2 separate regions of the Homo sapiens genome follow, and region 2 is linked to region 1. The links are contacts of gene promoters, found by promoter capture Hi-C in blood cells and fetal thymus (Javierre and others, 2016). All regions are on one chromosome and are shown on one strand. Each heading gives the region's core, a stretch centred on a gene start or on the middle of the fragment in contact. The rest is flanking DNA. Distances are from core to core; before and after follow the strand shown.

Evidence for each region. Contacts are between HindIII fragments. The CHiCAGO score rates a contact against its expected background, and 5 or more counts as called.
Region 2: a fragment that was not itself captured here is called in contact with the fragment with the promoter of DEFB116 in region 1 in 3 of 17 cell types (total CD8 T cells, total CD4 T cells and naive CD8 T cells); the score reaches 5.3 in total CD8 T cells.

What each region holds. Positions count from the first base shown.
Region 1 is chr20:31,307,278-31,309,977 of GRCh38, reverse strand. DEFB116 (defensin beta 116) reads left to right here and starts at 1,393. Exons shown (of 2, transcript NM_001037731.1): 1 at 1,393-1,459. The coding sequence starts at 1,393. The HindIII fragment of the contact is 2,687 bases long and covers 1-2,238 here.
Region 2 is chr20:31,344,089-31,346,883 of GRCh38, reverse strand. It overlaps the pseudogene HAUS6P2. Among named protein-coding and RNA genes, the nearest start is that of DEFB118, 23 kb to the left of the region's middle. The HindIII fragment of the contact is 790 bases long and covers 954-1,743 here.

The sequences.
Region 1 (2,700 bases), core at 144-2,643:
TATAACAACATATGTTTTGTGTAACCCTTATAGTAATCACAAAGCAAAAACTGACAGTAGATACACAAAGGATAAGAAGAAAGGAATCAAAGCATTCTAATATAGAAAATAATCTAATCACAAAGGAAGATAGCAAAAGAGGAAGAAAGGAACAAAGGATGTATAAAATAACCAGAAAAGAATGAACAAAATGGCAAAAGTAAATCCTTACCTATCAATACTTACTTTGAATGTAAATGGATTCAGTTTGCCAATTGAAGGAGTGGCTGAATTGATTTTTTTAAATGACTCAACTGTATTTTGCTTACAAGAGACTCATTTCAGTTTTAAGGAAACACATAGGCTGAAAGTTAAGTGATGGAAAAAGATGTTCCATGGAAAAAGAAACCAGAAAAGAGCAGGAACAGCTTTTCTTACAACAGAAAAAATAGACTTTAGGTAAAAAACCACAAAGTGAGACAAAGAAGGTCATTATATAATAATAAAGGGATCAATTAATTGAGAGATCAGCATGTCCATCACCTCAAATATTTATTATTTATTTGTGATGAGGTCATTTAAAAATCTTTCTTTTAGCTCTTTACATTATTATTAACTATAGATACTGGAGTACTATTCAGCCTTTAAAAAACAGAAAATTCTGTTATTTGCAATCATATGAATGAACCTAGAAGACACTATGTGAAGTGAAATAAAGCAGGCACAGAGAGACACATACCATATGATCTCACTTAGATGTGGAATCTAAAAAAATTGAACTCATAGACGTAGAGATTAGCATGGTTGTTACCAGAGCCTCGAGGGAGGGTGGATGGGGAAAGGGGAGACATTGGTCAATGGGTACAAACTTTCGGTTAGATAGGAGGAATAAGTTCTGGTGTTCTGTGGGCACAGCATGGTGACTACAGTTAAAAATAATTATTTATTTCTTTTTTTACAATTATACTTTAAGTGCTGGGGTACATGTGCAGAACGTGCAGGTTTGTTACATAGGTATACACGTGCCTCACATAGGTATACACGTGCTTATTTCTTATCTAATTGTTTATAAGTTTTTTCAAGTTTGCTTGCTTGCTTGGTTGATTCATTCATTCAAATTCGTTTCACACAAAATGCCAACTGGCTCTAATTTGTCTTTATTTCTTAATGGGAAGAAAGGCCCACACAGACATGAGCACTGCTGGCAAGTCTCCCACGCTTACACAGAGTATCCAGCTCAGATAAGTGATACATGTTGTCCTTCTTCCTGCCTGACATCAGGTATCTCCCATCCCTTTTAGTTCACTGCACAGAACCCTGACGCATTTCCAAAACTAATAAAGGCGGGCTACTGCTCTGCTACAGTGATCTCTGTTTGGTCACCTGCAACACAGCCCTTCATTCTGGTGGAACATGTCAGTCATGAAGCCCTGTTTAATGACCATTGCCATCCTTATGATCCTGGCTCAAAAGACTCCAGGTAACTCAGGCCTCTCTCAAAGGTTCTGGCGTCTTGCATGTGGTACTGGTATCTTGGTGACCTCTGCAGTGACTCCTACTCACATATAGTGGGCAACACCTAAAGCCTTTTCTGGTCTCAGGTGGGTCACAGATGTTATTCCCAAGGTTAATTTCATGTAAAGATCTCCCCTGGTTCTGCTCTGCCAAGACAAATTGAAGAGGTTGTTGATCCTGGCATAGTGGACAGTCTAAGCATGGAACATTTTAGGTAGTGCTGTCATTGGGATGGGGGCTTAATTCATGAGTTAGGTGTGAGAGACTGTGTGCAAGTTGAGGAGCTATAGGAGGGGTATAGCAGTTTGGAGTTGGGTAGGGAGTTGAGGTGGGGAGGTTGTAAGACCTTAGAGATAGGGTAATATCCAAAAAGTGAGTGGGGATGAGCATGGGGTGAATAATTGTATTTATAGGTTGGGCTGAATAGATGTTTTGGTGCATTCTAGAGAGGAAATGGTATTTTTTCTTGAATGGAGCTGGGGTAGAGTTGGTGCAACTGGGAGTTGGGGTATAGAGAGGTTTGTAGCTGGGTTGTGTTTTAGATTGATGCTGTGAATGGGGTTGGGTGGCTTGGATAGTGTTATGTTTGTATGTTTTGCAGTTGGGCTTTTGGTGGTTATTAGAAGAGGTAGGGCTTGAGTTGTAGTTAGTGTTTGCCTAAAGTGGGTATCTTATTCAGTCATGGGTATGTGAGGTTTATCTGGGCAGGGATTGACTTAGCCTGGGTTTGGGGGTGATTAAGCTTGAGTAAGACAGTTGAATTCATCACAGCAGGGTTGTGGCTATTGAAATAAGGAGAATATTGACTCCTTCTCAGATATATGATTTGCAAATATTTTCTCCCATTCCATAGGTTGTTTCTTCATTTTGTAGACTGTTTCCTTTGCTGTGCAGAAACTTTCTAGATTGCTGCAATCCCCTTGTTTATTTTTGCTTTTGTTGCCTGTGCTTTGGTGTCATATCCAGAAAATCCTTCCCAAGGCCAACGTCAAGAAGCTTTTTCTCTATGTTTTCTCCTAGGAGTTTTATAGTTTCAGGTCTTAGATTTAAGTCTTTAATCCATTTTGAATTTGTTTTTGTGTATGGTGTAAGATAAATATCCAATTTTATTATTTTGCATCTAGATACCTAGTTTTCCCAATACATTTATTGAAGAGACTATACTGTCATGAATATGTCCTAGAAATCTACTGTACAACACAGTTC
Region 2 (2,795 bases), core at 99-2,598, 37 kb before region 1:
TGCTGATTGGTCGTCAGGTCAGAGATGAAATCACAGGGAGTGGAAGATGTCTTCTTGTGCTGATTCAGTTCCTGGGCCCGGGAGGTGTAGGGGGGTAGGGGGTGGGGCAGGGTGGGCACAATTGTGAGACTTTTTCCTATGTGTGAGCCCATGCAAATTGAGAAACAGGGAGTGAGAATCCAAGAGGTTTCTCTAATCCTACCAACATGTCCATTTTTCTGATGCTTTCTGATGCTGCCTAAATAGCTGACAGTTGCAGAAGCCGTGTGACCCTTGAATGTTGGTGTGGATGTGATATGACTGAGGAGAGAAAGAGGTTTCCTTTAAAAGGTATCTCTACATTAGATAGGTGAGCCTGTCTATGGAGGTTATTGGAAAGGGTGTAAAGGTTTTATTAACTTTCAGGGAAAACAATTTTAAATCAAACCCAAATTCCAAGTGCCTTAAATTTGTTAGCACTTCAATAAAAAAACTCCAGCCTGGGAGAAAGTGGCAAGTGCTTGAGGAGTTGAGCCATCAATTAAACCTTGTAAGGTGTGCAAATACATTAAGAAAATTAAAGAAATACATCTTTGGAGGACTGAATCTTATAATAGGTTTGTACTTGAAAAGATTATTTGCAAATGAAGAAATTGAAGTACTGAATTGTTTAAAACCTTTTGGTCAAAAGGAATATTATACTCAGGAATAACATAAAATATATAAATAAAAAATGTATAAAGAACTCTGTCAAAATCACAAAGATCTTAAAAATAATTTTAATGGTGTTCTTGTTTTCTGATATAAATACTTTCACTTAAAAATGTTTTTGGATGAGAAAAGGCAAAATCTAATTTTAGTTAAATGACCTTAATGTTCCTTCCACGTACAATATGGGGAATAAAAGATATGCAAATTAACTTTAGGCTTAATGAGTAATCATAAAAAGGATTATAAAATCCTTCCACAAAGCTTTTAATATTATTTAGTTGAGGGAGAGATTTTATAGTTATATCCAGTTCCCATTAATACTCCCAAGCAGGGGAAACATTTTTATTTTTTGATAAAGTTTGGGTTAAAAGAAGTCTATATTTGTTCTCTCTGAATTTGCCTCAGTGGGAAATAAAAATACAAACATGAGATTTTTAGTCTATTTAAGACTTTTAATCTATTTATTATTTTACAAAACAGTTAAATACCTACATTCCTTACACTTAATTTGTAAATCAGATGTTTTTATTAATTATAATATTTAAATATATAAATAAAAACATAGGTCTTCAATTAAATTGAGCCACAATTTAAACATGTAGTGCATATAAATTTGGTTCTTATAAACTTCAGACAGTATTCTATTTATGTAGAGTTTATTCATCAGTTAAACCAGCTGGGCCTAGTTTTATAATGTTCTTGTTTCCCTGTAAAATTGTTGTTATAAGCTGTGATTTCATTATCCTTTAAAATTAACTTATGTTTTCTAAAATCCATCATTTAGGAGCTTTAGAACAATTTAATATTATGGCACTTGTAAATCTTTATTTATCTTGACACTTTTAAATAAAATTTGGAGAGATGCAGAAAGTGAAGTCTATCGTTACCATATTATCTTCATTTTAAAAAAAAATCTATTTATTCTCATGGATATAAATTAATTTGTTCTTCAGATTACCCAAATGAAGGTAGTTTATACCAACGGATTATATACATTGTCCAAAAATGTGCTTGACAAGGTGCTTATGTTTTAAACATTAGAACTTTTAAGCTTAAATTACATTGTCCTTTAATTACTGTTTAGTTAAGAACATATTGTAGGCTTCGAGTAGGCAGCTGCGGCCACATTCCCATGACAGGCTCCATTTTCTGGAGACTGTACAGCCCTTTGAGGTGAAATGGCTCCAGCGAGAGAGATGCAGGCAGTGGCAAAGAAGGGACCTCTGAGACCTCAGGCTGCCCATAGGGAGGGATCCTGAGGACCCAAGAGTCGCTAGGGCTTGTGCTTTTTTTCTTTGCAGTCACCGTGCCTATCATGAGGATGACCTTGGCCTGGATCACCTCTTTCCAGAACAAGCATCTCTGAATGTATCGGCAGGTGCTCAGCTTTGAGCCAGGCCCGGGTTTGACCATGGCCTGCAAAGGGTGTCAAATAAGCACCTTGGAGTGAACATGTTTGATAAGCTGAACCGTGATGGCTTTCATATAGTTTCTTATTTTTTGTTTCAAATGCTGGACCAGTCTCTCACCAAAGAAGTTTTTAAATTTTGTTGGCCACCATTTGACCAAGAAAGTGATACGATATTCAGGAAACATTGCTGTGAATGGTTAACAAGGATTTCTGCTGAATGTGGAAGCTTTCCTCAAATTGTTGTTCACTATTTATTTCTCCTAGCGGTTCTGTTTACTCATCTGATGTAACATCTTGCGAGATTTGTTGTAATAAAATATATGAAAACCAATTCTAAAAATTCTTTATGTTTTGCAGACATTTAATGTGAAATCACAAAGTTTGCACAAGCGCAATGCCAGATGCCATTTAGCACGTAACAAATGTTTACAAATTTTGCAAAGAGCAGATTGTATTACCCCAAAATCTCAGGAAAATGTACAATTATTAGTTAAGTATGTCTGAAATTTGAGATCTAGATGTATAGAACTGCAAAACCAAATTTAAAAAAATGGAACCCTATGGGTGACCAAAGTAGTATAGAAGAAAAAACTCAAAAGGTTGGGCCTTTGTGAACATCAGTGAATGAAACACTCATGTTTCTGGAAAAAGAGAAGTTGTTAGTTCAGTCCTTAGTCTAACCGATATGCTTTAG